Linked DNA regions of Homo sapiens: region 2 is linked to region 1. The links are contacts of gene promoters, found by promoter capture Hi-C in blood cells and fetal thymus (Javierre and others, 2016). All regions are on one chromosome and are shown on one strand. Each heading gives the region's core, a stretch centred on a gene start or on the middle of the fragment in contact. The rest is flanking DNA. Distances are from core to core; before and after follow the strand shown.

Region 1 (6,070 bases), core at 3,391-5,890:
TAGTTCTCAGAACTTCAGAAACAATGTAATAAGTAAACAATTTCTTAAAAGTATTCTAGATAATAGCAAATGGGATTCTTTAACAACAGTACTCTGTTGCAGTGAGAGGTGATTTTTCTGAAGAATCCCAAACCTCACAATATTCTCTATACTCCAGCCCCTTACACACACACACACACACACACACACACACACACTGTAAAGTATGAATCTCACATATATAGAAAGGCTCTCTAAATGATGGAAAAAAGTGGAAAAAAAAAGCATATGTCAAACAAATACAAAACTGGCATGTGTTAAGACTAATAAATTATAGAAAAACAGACCTTTAAATACCTTTAAGTTGTTACAACAGAACTGATGAAACCATAACTTTAGTAGGTAACTGAGAATTATGACTATATCCTTTGCTTCAATACTTTTACTCTAAAATGTGACCCTAAGTAAAACATGTACATAAATTCTTTCCATGAACAGCTTGATTGCAGAAAACCAAACATATTATAGATATATCTTAACACTGAATAATTTCAGTGCCTTGAGTTATAATGTGTTGCTCACACTGGCACCAAGTAGAGACTGATAATCTAAAAGAATAGCATTAAGTGTTATTCAAACTGGTCCATAAACATTCTCAGTGGTCCTTAGGTTCTGAGAGATACAGTCCTGAAATTTTACAAGTATGCTTAGCTGTAACTGAAATTCTAACTTGCATAACATAATGTAACTTAAAATGTTAGTTCCTCCAAAAAAAAAAAAAAAATCCAGGACCTCTTTATAAAAAATTATCAAATTTATTTTAATGTCTAGTTTCATTTTTAAACTGTAGCTGCTAGACAATTTTTTGTAATTTAAAATTCATTAATGGGTACAGAAAACATTAATAAGCTGACAGTGAATTAAATACTAACAGTGAATAAAATTATTGGACCATGCATTTATAAAAGCCATGTTTAATAGTAAAACGTTCCAGTTCTACTAAACTGAAAGAAACATCCTTTAGCTCCCTACTTCCAATTACAGCACATTCTCATTTTGATATAATTTATCCTTTTCACCCAATCACTACTATGCCCAACAAAATGTTTCCAAATTTTATACCTTTCTTTACCACTTATGAAGTATGGCGTAACTGTTACACTTTAAGAGTTCTTTAAAAGAAATGTGAAATTTAACGTTTTACTTTGAACCTGTTTGATCAGAAAGTATTAAATATCACTACCACATGAGTTAAAACAAAGAATGAAATAAAAAACAAATGGTGTCTTTGTAATCGGCGAATTACTTGATAAGACATTTTAACTATTTTACAGTTCTGCTTAGCACAAGAATAAACTGGGTTCCAAGGTACTACAGTGTTTGGCATTTTTACTGCAAGCTTTAAACCATAGTGTTACTCCTCTCAAGCCATCTCTAAGAAAATGGCAGTGTTTGTGAGTACAAAAATTGTTCTGTCCAGTAGGTGGTATTCTACATAGTCGAGATAAGAGAATTCTTTATAAAATTATGTTTTAAAAAATGGAAAATGACTTATAATTACCAGCTGTCTCAAAGGCTGTAATAAGAAAAATGCAGCAAATAGAAGTACTCATTAATATTATTTTGTTTTGAGAAAGCCAGAAATGATTCTAAGAAATAAACAATAATAATAAAAGATGTAATTAATATACTGTATCCCTTTTAAGCCAAAGCACACTTTTTACCTCAAGACTGTTCTGACTTTTACATTCTTAATTTCCTTTGTCCAAAATAGGACCCCATTTTAAATAGAGTTCATTTGAATTGAGTTCATAATCTAAAGTCACTTTTCCCCACAAGATGTTTTCATTTCAGTATATAAACTGCTAAGCGGCAAATGACTAAGTCAGTTATAAAGAATTTGTACCACAGTAAATGCTAATTTACAATAACTGTCAATAGAAACCTATAAACTTCTACACCCACGCCTAAAAGTTACTATAGTATTGAGGTCAGAACTAACATGATTCTTCCATTTGGTCAAATTTCATTTACTAAATCATACTGTCAAGAAATCCAAAGAAGAAACTTTAGTGGATTCTTCCAAAGCTGTGTAATTTTCCAAATGATTTTCCTCTGGTTGCAAAGCCTGTTCAGTCCTTCAATCCTTTTTTAGTCGTTTAGCTTTTGCAATGTTTTCTTGGCGTTTTTGCTTCTTCTTTTGCTCCTTCTCCCTGGCCTCAATCATCTTGGCCAATTTCCAAGACAGTACAGCACTTGCTAGGAACAGTGGAGTAAGGGCCAAAATAACGGTTGTAAGGAAGCCATAGGGGTCCTTTGCAGCCCATTCCACAACATACTCAGCCCAAGCCTTTATATCAAACATCTTCACAGCAGTCTTATGAAAACTGGGGCTGGGGGAGGCGGGTGGAGAACACAGAGGAAAAAAACAGGAGAAAAGACTATGTGGTTAATCAAATTTTGAAAAAGTTTCCTCACACAACCAGTTAACTCAGGATTCCATTATCACTCAGTTTGCTTTTTTAAAAAGTACAACTTAGTACTATTGTAATAAGGACTAGTATCTCTGGTTAGGAAAAAGTAATTCATCTAGTACAGCCAGAATAGTGACACTTCAAAGAGGTAAAGTTATAGAAGATTTAAAAAAGCCATGTGACTCTGTCATAAGGACTATGCATTCTCACATGCCTCCTATATTCAAGACAAACTTTATTTAGGAGGAGGCTTTTATAAAAATCTTGAGTTTTCTGTGGTCATTCCAGGAAACAGCTGAATACAGTTTGTCATTTTTTGACATATCCTTAGTATTACTAATTAACAAAAATACAAATCAGCAAATTTGGTGTTTGAAAAGGACAAGCAACAGAGCATGTGAAATGCTCGCAGAGAAGGAGAGATGACTATTTCCCCGAATGGGAAGGAGAGGGTAAGGGAGTCATGACATCGCATTAATATGCCAAAGAAGCAAAAAGTACTGTGCTATTTTATGCCCTTTCAGCTTTGAGGACCTCTGTTGGAATAAGCCTAATTTAATAAATGAGAAAGTAGCCTTAACAGATGCCATGTGTTTTGTTCCTTTTTGAGTGTAAGGAAAAGGCAACTGGCAAATGAGGATTATGTGACTTGAGTGACGTTTTCTATTTTGCCCCAGAGGCTTTTCTCCCTTTCATGTTTGTGTCAACCGCTATTCAAAGTGGAGAATTAGAATACCTGGGTAGGGAATGAGTGTATATACATCCACTTACAATTTCAACTGGAATTTTTTTAAAAAAATCATCTACCTTATGCTTGAGTAGTGATCCCTTAACTTTGTCCTGGTGTTATTAGTGACCCAATCACGACTTCAGATGACCCTTGGTAGTCTGTCTTCTTGAGTTCTACTGTACACATCTGAGAGACGGTTTAAATTCTGTACAATTGGCTAGTTGGAAAGAATACAAAAAATAAAACAAAATTTAAGTCACAATTTCAGGATAATTGTAATAAAATTTTAAATGGAAAATTTCTATATTGTATATATGCAACCTATATGACATCTAAAATTGCCTATCCGGTATAGTAACTTAATACGTTTCTTCCTCATTTGAATTTACAATTGCAAATGCCCTGTAAGAAAATCCTAATTACTGGAAATCAAGTATTTTACTAAGTTACTTATTTCAATAATAAAATTTTTTTAGTTCATTGACATACGGGAGACAAGTTGGCTCACTGACTGACTTACACAGCGTATCCGTTCCTAGATTTTCAATTTTTATACTAAAAATGTTGCCACTCATTTATTTACTGGATTAGGTACACCACTACAAAATCAAACAGCTCATCTTACTCTTTATAAAGGTTTTTTTGGGTCCATCATACAATTTGTGTCCTTTACTTAAAAAATTAGAAGACATAACCAAACAAATTATAGTAATTCACCCACAGTCCCATTACCCCAAGAAAACTGTGACTAGTTTTAATTATATCTTCCCCACGATTTTCAACTGAACACACATGAAAGTGCCTAATACGTTAAATATCTTAGCTCCTGGACTTCATACGACCTCACCCATACAGTTAGAATTAGGTACTACTGAGATCGATCTGCCTTCACCTTCTCCAGCCCAGTAGCGAATAAACAATGTAAGTTTCAGAAATAAGCAAAAGAACTTTGCAGTAAAAGAGCCATGGTCCACAGGCCACACATCTCCCTGCAACTCAACTTCGGACCCAAACGCTCGCGCCTCCACACTTTCAGGAATAAATCCTACTCTTCCGCCCAAAACGGATCGACCAGGCTCGATCTCCCAACCAGACCCGCGTGGCCCCTGCGGCTGCAACGGGTAGCACTTGACGGCCGTCCGCACTTCCTCCTTTGTCTTTCCCTTATTCCTTACGTTTCTCCCTTGCTCACTCTTCCCTCCTTACCCTATCGGGGCTGCAGACCCACGGAGGCCACGTTCACTCCTGCCCGTCGGCCTTGGCAAGCGCGGGCCCCTTGTCGCGCAGAGCGGAGGGTCCTGGGAGATCCTGGGTTGGCCCAGCCACACCTTGCGCCGCCGCCGTTTCTGCTGGACACCAGGAGAAAACCACGGCAGCTGCAGCCACCAACTTCCCCTACATAGCCCCACGGGATCGGATCCCACTCCCCACTCACCGCCAGACCGGAAGCAGGAAGGCGGAAGTCGCGGCCTTTGCGTCCCGCCCACAGGCGACCCGAGCCGCCAGCCGGGCGTGAGTAAGTCTAGGGCCCAGTTTCCGGCTGCGCCATTGCTGTGTGGGTCTTGGGACCTCGAGTTGGAGGACGCGGGAGGGTGGGGGCGGGGGCAGGGCAGCGCTGAGATTTCCGGGGAGCGGCAGGTGAGGCCGCGCGGGGCGGGTGACGGCACCCGGGCGGGCTCCTTTCCAGGCTGGAGCCCGAGACTGCCACGTCCTGCGGGGACCAAGTGGTGGGCGAGGAGGCGTGGAGCGGCTTCAGGACTCGAGGAGCGGTTCCGAAGCAGCTAGGGACTTTTGCCTTTGCCCCCCGAGGTCGATCGGAAGACAACCCCCATCCCCTGCTGTAGCGGGACAGTTGGAGGGTCATGGGTGGGTGAAGTGTTTGGCTGAGGGAAACTCAGACCAAAGAGCAGCGGCAAGAAAGCAGTTGGGTCCCCACAAAACGCCCGAAGTCAAGGTGAGGGTCACACAACGACTCTTGACGATTCCGGCGAGTTCATCCTGGTGCACATCCCACTCCATGCCTCTCTCTTCTGGTTGGACAATAGTTACATCCTTACGAAAAGGAGGCAAGCTACTGGGCCTTGGTGGATCCACTCAACCTTGTTACCAAGGGACATGCCGCCATGCTATGTGAAAAGGGGGGTTTTGTTGTTTGTTTTTAATTTAAGTATCTAATTCGTTTCACGAAAGAATGATCAATACCGGCCCAGAGTAAACTTGATAAGTAATTAAACTGTCAGGGCATAGAGTTCCCATAGAGGTGCTTGTTCTTTCAATACACAAATAAAGGGATGCAAAAGTCAACATGCAGAAAGGGTGAGTTAATATTGTCTTCTAATCTACAGGAACTGAAAGATTAGCTAATCTGGTTTGGTTGGTGACCAAATTTTGTGATTGCTTGCACTGTTTGACTACCTCTGACAAATGTTGCAAGACCTCTTCACTGATTCTCCAAAGACTATAGAATGTTCTCTTTCAGGAGCAAGCTGCGACATGTTTAACTAGTTTAGGTAAAACAACAATAACTGTTATTTACCAGGGAACAGGCTTTTGGCAGATAATCTAACGATCTACGATACTGTTCGTTGGGCATATGTTAATGTTTGTAATGTTGTATTACCAGCAGTTGTTTTCTTACTCCTTTTTATTTGAAAACCTGGATGATAGTTTCAAAGCCTATGCTGCTTAGGCCTAGCCTGTACCTTAGTAGCCAGAAAAAGTAGACTCAGTCACTGGATTGTGTGCACTGAATACTTACTTGAGATAACTGATTTTTCTAAAACTTCCCCAAGTCTTGAATCCAAGATGTGGGCAGAATGTATTATTTTAACATCCTTCGTTCCAGAGGCCAATGCGTGTTTTATTTTAATCATGATAGGTGGTTTTC
Region 2 (6,716 bases), core at 1,648-4,147, 110 kb after region 1:
TGTCAAACCTCCACGGATGCCAGATTCCAAGCTTAAGCCTCCACTCAAAAATGAAGGAGTTGGGTAGGAGGTGGGGACAAGAAATTTAAAAAAAATTAAGCCAGTGGAATCTAAAAGCAGTGGTTATGAAAGTTTAGTTGGAAAATGCTAGATGGACCAATGCATTTGAGTATCAGGAGTGGTAATGTTAATGCCTCCTTCAATAATGATTTCTGTAGTTTAAGCCATCACCCACCCATGGAAACTCCATAGACAAAAGAGTCGCTCAGCTGGTCTAAGGTAAGGGCCCTGCTTAATAAGGCAAGGTGGGTCTGTTTTTGTCTAGAACTCCTAGACAGGCCTCTTTTTCAGGAAAAGACGAATCTTCAAAGTATCAAGAAACATGAAGCTACTTGCTGAGTCTGTAAGATCTTCTTTAGCCACAGCTACATTCATGCAGTGGGTACATGGATGCATAGAGTGATAGCCTTAGACAGTGCTAGGTTCCAATGCCTGCCTTGCCACTTTCTAGCCCTGTAATTTAAAGAAAGTTACTTAAATGACCCAAGCCTCCCTTTTGTCATCTGCAAAGTGGGGATAATAATGGTCACTACTTATCAGGTATGGTAAGGGCCAAATGTCACGTGCACCTGGCATGTCTCCTGTGCTAATAAATGCTTGAAATGTGTTTCTGTCCTTTCACTTCTTAGGTCATTTTTAACTGTATGATTTGTATGTTGTGATAAGATCATTTACAAAACAGCTCACATCTCTTTGACATTTCATATGTAACAGAAGCTCCAAGTTCTGCCCTGAGATAAGGTACTTTCTTGGCTTCCTATTGAGGAGTTTAGGGTATAACATGGCTTCCAGGCCCTGAACCTTCTCTGTGGAACTGTGGGAAATGCCACAGGTGGGAGCCAGTTACCTGCTGAGAACAAGGATGCTGCAGCCCCACCCTGCTTCCTCACCCTCCGGCCCTCTGGCCCTTTGGCCCAGGGTTAGGTGCGGACCAGGAGAGTGGCTGGCAGGGGGCGATCCCAGTGGTGACAGTCCGTGTGAGAAGGTGCCCAGCTTGGGGCAGGTAGGCATCAAGAACTGCATCCAGAATGACCAAATAGAGTAGACCAGAGATGGGCTGGTCCACTCGAGGTCTGGAAGGCCACACCATGTAGATCAAGTAGAGGACACTTGTGCCCACAAGTAAACACCAAGATCCAGCAAGGAGGCTCTGAAATCCCTTCCCCAGGGCAGCCAGGTGTTGAGGTCTGAGCTGACTCAGAGCTTCAGGGAGCTTCACCCACTGCCAGGGACTGTTTCTATCCAGATACCTGCTCCTCCACAGGCTTCTCCCCACCGTCTCACAGGCCAACAATGCAGACTCCGAGAATGGGGATTTCCTTCCTTCCCCTTCTGCCTTGCAGGCCTCATGGAGCTGTAAACCTCTTGGAGAAAGAAATCACAGGCCAAGGCTGCAGACATCAGTTCAACTAAGAGATGTTCAATTCAAAAAGAACCTACAGGGCTCTGTCTGCAGCTCCTCTGCAGAAATGGGGGACCCTGGTGGGTGCCCTGGAGGCCCAGCACTCTTCAACCTTTTCCTCTTATCCACTTCAATCTTCTCCATTTTTAAAAATCAATAGGAAAAAGACCAATGACCCAAAAGAAAAACGGGCCGGGACATGAGCAGGCAGTTCACACACACACACACACACACACACACACACACACACACACAAGGAGACAAAATTGGCCAGTAAATATTTTTAAAATTCTCTTCCTCTCAATTTAAAAAACCCAAAGCAAAATAAGATTTCATTTTCTACTTGTCAGGCTGAGTAAAATAAAAAAGATATTTACTAATACTTTGCATTGTTTATGATCAGGAGGAGCATAACACAATGTAAATAGCTACAGTCTCTTCAGAGGGAAATTTCAAGGCTACATATTTTTCCTATGTATACACTCTTACCTGTGAGCCCAAAAGTATGCACAAAGAACCAGTTAAAGAAAGCATGGTTCATAATGGAGTAGATTTATTTGTGCTCATGTGGCACTATCTCCAAGACATGATATTAAGTGAAAAGGAGTGGGTCAGAGCAGGGCATAAAATATCTCTGAAAGAAGATACAAGAACCAACAGGCCATGGTGGTTGCCTCCAGAGAGAGGGCTGGAGGGCTGGGCCGCTAGGGTGGAGCACAGACTTACATTTCACTATACTCTTCTGGATTTTTTTTAAACCATAGGTATGTATTTCTATTTTAATTAAAAATATACTACTTTTTTTTTAAAGAAAACTTTCTCCATTCTCTTCTATCCCTCTATCCTGTCCTACAAACTTCTCCCTTAGTCTCTTTTCTTCTCTCTCTTTTTTTTTTTTTTTTTTTTTTTTTGGAGACAGGGTCATCTTACTCTATCACCCAGGCTAGAGTGCAGGGACATGATTGTAGCTCACTGCAGCCTTGACCTCCTGGGCTTAAGCAATCCTCCCACCTCAAACTCCAGAGTAGCTAGGACTTCAGATGTGTGCCACCATGCCCAGATAATTTTTTAAATTTTTCATGGAGTCGAGGTCTCACTATTTAGTCCAATTTGGTCTCAAACTCCTGGTCTCAAGCAATCCTCCAGCTTCAGCCTCCTACAGTGCTGAGATTACAGGCGTGAGCCACTGCACCTGGCCTCCCCTTCATTCTTTTTTTTTTTTTTTTTTTTGAGACAAGTTCTCCCTCTGTTGCCCAGGCTGGAGAGCAGTGATGTGTGATCACTGTTTACTGCAGCCTTGATATCCTGGTCTCAAACAATCCTCTTGCCTCAGCCTCATGAGTAGCTGAGACTACAGGCATGTACCACCAGAGATGGGGTTTCACCACATGCCCAGGCTGGTCTTGAACTCCTGAGCTCAAGAGATCCACCCGTCTCAGCCTCCAAAAGTGCTGGGATTATAGGCAGAAGCCACTGAACCTGGCCTCTCCCTCTCATTCCTGACAGATTATCTTGCTTTGCATTGACATAGAAAATGAAAACATCAGTGAGAACATCTTCAACTCAGTGCACAGCCAAGACTGTACTCTAACTGCACCACATCCATCCTTTCCACTTTATTTTCTTCTCCCAGTCCCTGGATGCCATCCATAGCAGGACTTTGTCCCTCTTTGGTGAACCCTCAGCCCCTCTCTTTATTCTGGATTTTTTCATTGATATTCAAATTCACCAGTCTCCCAGTTCCTAAACCACCTGTCGCTGCTGCTCCTGGACTCTTTAGTCCCTTTTGTGGTTAATCTTCTCGAAAGAGTTGTCTACATTGCCTATTATTTGCTCCTCTTCCTTTGCTCATTCTGCAGTCTGGCTTCTGACTCCATCCCCACCCATCTTACATCTCCAAAATCACATGTGACCTGCATATTACTATTATAAAATCACTGGACACCTCTTCTTGAACACTCTCTTCCACTCCTTTAACTAGCTTCAGTTACCACATCTATATTTTTAGTGCAGATTCATCAACTAACTCACTCTACACTGGTCATCTGCTTTAGACGCCCCATAGACACATCAGCCTCAGCACCTGTGTTCTCTCTTTCAGTGAATGGTGTTGTCATCCAAGCCAAAGAGTTGGGAGTCTTTCTCTCATCTTCCCCTTCCCCTGCTCTCTATAGCCAGCCTTCCAATTGTCATTTGAATCTGCCTTCTCAGCTACTATCCTAGTCCTTGCCACCAGTTTCTCTGTGTCTTTACAACAGCTGATCTCTCTGCCTCCAGCCTTCCCCTCCCCCATCAATTCTCTACACTCTTTGCTTTGACCCTTTCAATGGCTTCCTCTACCCTCAGGATAAATCCCAAGTTCCTTAACATGGTTACAAGACCCTGCATGACCTCATCTTATTCACCAACCATCTTTTGCATTCTAAGATCCAGCCTTACTGCTTTCATTCTTTAAATACTCTATATTCTTCCATACTCTGAATCTCAGAATGCAATGATCCTTCTGCCTAGAAAGCTCTTTTCTTTTCTCTTCTCCTGGATAGGTTTTCTTCATTTTTCATGTCTCAGCTTTCATCTGTCTTCCTCCAGAAACCCTGGTTTGATGAGCTTCACCCTGGGTTAGATGTTTCTCCCATAGCATCTTGTGCTTCCTCTTTCATAACTATCATTGCCCTGTAATGAATTGCTTCTTTAGTTCTGATTCTTCCACAAGATTAAGTTTAAAATGGAGCTTATGGCTGGGTGCTATGGCTCACACCTGTAATCCCCAGCGCTTTGGGAGGCTGAGGTGGGCAGATCACTTGAGCTCAGGAATTCAAAACCAGTCTGGGGAACATGGAGAAAACCTGTGTCTACAAAGAATGCAAAAAGTTAGCCAAGCATGATGGTCTGCACCTGAAGTCCCAGCTACTTGGGAGGCTGAGGTGGGAGGATCACTTGAGCCTGGGAGGTGGAGGTTGCAATGAACCCAGATTGTGCCACTATACTCCAGCCTAGGCAGCAGAGATAGAACCTGTATTAGAAAAAAAAAAAAAAAGGAGCATAGCCCTCCTGATACACCACTCTGGCACATAGTAAATGCCAAATAATCATTGTATGAACTGATGAATGCACGACCAACCCCCATTTCACAGTGTATTTTAACAAAGAAACATACACAGAGCCTTGCTGCCTTTGTGGAATCACCAAGGGAAAATAGCTCAGCCAAAGGTACTCTACATAGTTATAATTCTAATTCTGACTAACTTGTTAGGGTTCTCCCTCTGGTGATATATTGTAGAATTTAAAACATGTTTGCAATAATGCATGCCTTCATCTTCCCTTTAAAAACTGTGTGTGTGTGCATGTCCACGTCATTGTGTCAGAGAATGGGTTTGCCAAATAGGCCTTTGTAGTCCAGTAGTTTGAACTATTAGATTACTAATAGAAATCTATGAGAAGATTGTTCTTCAGCAAGTTTTCCAGTAAATTATCTCTAGGCAAGAATGTAGCAACTGGGTATTTTAAAATGTATTTTTGTAGCAGCTATTGACAAAGTACAGCCTGTATTGCTTAAGAAATTTTAACATGTAGACATCTAAAGTGCATTGTTGAAATAAAATGATACATACATTCCAAGGGTCAAGGCTGACCAATGTCAGATTTAAGAATGTCAGTTGGCAGAAGTGGAGGAATTTGGGAACTAGAAAACATGGCTATTTGCTCAGGTTAATTCTGAAATGGGTGGAGGGAGAATCAATGAGCATGTGAATCCAAGCAGTCTTCAGACAGAATTTTTAGCAGTGCACTCACAGTGAAAGTAAAACCTTTAGAAACTAAAAAAATTAAACATCAAGCTGAACAAATAAATAAAGCAGGAACAAAACTGGCATAGGTCTGGTTTTTTAAAGAAGAGAACCAAAGCAGGCAGTTCTTAGCTGATCTCCTGGAATTCCTAGTAAAAGAAAGAAAGAAAATAAGGGTGCCCACACTGGATTATCAAATCTGTTTTCTTTTCCTTAGCTCTAGGGCTGTACAGAAGCCTCCATGCTCTTGGATATGTGTGCCACCTCAAACCCAGCCCCTCCCAGACGCTTCAGCCCCTGAGCTGCACCCCCACCTGGCTCTCCTTCCTCTCTCCGCTACCTGGCTCTCCCTCCCCTCTCTCCTACCTGGCTCTCACTCTCCCCTCCCGTACTGCTGGTCTGGGTGTTGTCAGTTCTTTCCATTATTATGGGTCTGTCCATGCCACCACCCTGATGCAAGCCCCTACTGTCTGCTGCCCAGCCTGTGGGCAGGAAGGAGCCCCTGGGATGTAGTAACTAAGCTTCAGGCTCTAGCCAGGGACTACCAGGGTCTCAGCTTGGTTCTAGCACTTACAAGCCAACCAACGCTGGTCCAGTGATTCTGTGTCTCAATCTCCTCTTTGTTAAAAGGAGAGGGATGATAGTCCCTGGCCCACAGGGCTGTGTGAGGACTGAAGGAGGCGATGTGTATAAAGGTCACAGACCAGTACGTGGCCCAAAGTAGCATGCTCTGTACACACCAGCTACTGTTATTTCTTATTATTTCCTTGCTCCCTTTCTTGCCTCCATTGAATCCATTTTCCTGCAGTTATCACTTTCAAATAAACTCTGATCATAACACCTTCCTGCTGAAAACACTTGCAAAATTTGCCCGTGATTTTTAGGAACAGCCTAAATCCGTAAAAAGGCCTCCAAAACTGGGTGTGGCCTGGGCCCTACCTCCTTCTCCAGCCCCATCTTGCACCCTCTCCCCTTTGTTCTCAGAGCTCCAGATGCCTGGCTGTCTTTCAGTTCTTCAAACTAGAGGAGCTTCCCTCCACCTCAGGGCTTTACACAAGCTGCTTCCTCTGCCCGGAACGCCGACTCATCCTTCCCGTCTCGGTGCGAGCCTCATCACTTCCTCAGGGAGATCTTGCCCAGCCTCCCTCACTAGGTCAAAGCAGGCTGTGGCACCAATCATACTTCTCCTTCAATGGCGTTCCTCAGGGTCACCATCTAACACATTTGTGTGGTTACTAGATCAACACCGCTCTCACTGCTACAGTGAAAACTCTGTGAAGGCAGGGAGCATGACTATTTTTTATTTATTCCAACCCTCAGAGCCTAGAGTAGTTCCTGAAATGCAACAAAGTAGGTGCTTTGAAATGAGGAAGGGGCTGGGTGAGGTGGCTAACACCTGTTACCCCAGCACTTTGGAAGCCGTGGTGGGAGGATCATTTGAGGCCAGGAGTTTGAGACCAGCCTGGGCA

The links. Contacts are between HindIII fragments. The CHiCAGO score rates a contact against its expected background, and 5 or more counts as called.
Region 2: a fragment that was not itself captured here is called in contact with the fragment with the promoter of SMIM15 in region 1 in 2 of 17 cell types (neutrophils and M2 macrophages); the score reaches 5.4 in neutrophils.

Annotation. Positions count from the first base shown.
Region 1 is chr5:61,157,828-61,163,897 of GRCh38, forward strand. It overlaps SMIM15 (small integral membrane protein 15), which reads right to left and starts at 4,641. Exons shown (of 3, transcript NM_001048249.4): 1 at 4,390-4,641; 2 at 3,261-3,400; 3 at 1-2,372. The coding sequence starts at 2,344. The coding sequence ends at 2,120. It overlaps SMIM15-AS1 (SMIM15 antisense RNA 1), which reads left to right and starts at 4,489. Exons shown (of 4, transcript NR_109908.1): 1 at 4,489-4,699. RefSeq lists enhancers at 3,808-4,704, 4,190-4,269, 4,340-4,599, 5,130-5,229, 5,270-5,329 and a silencer at 4,780-4,889. The HindIII fragment of the contact is 8,836 bases long and covers 1,377-6,070 here.
Region 2 is chr5:61,269,679-61,276,394 of GRCh38, forward strand. No RefSeq gene overlaps it. Among named protein-coding and RNA genes, the nearest start is that of LINC02057, 8.1 kb to the left of the region's middle. The HindIII fragment of the contact is 5,737 bases long and covers 30-5,766 here.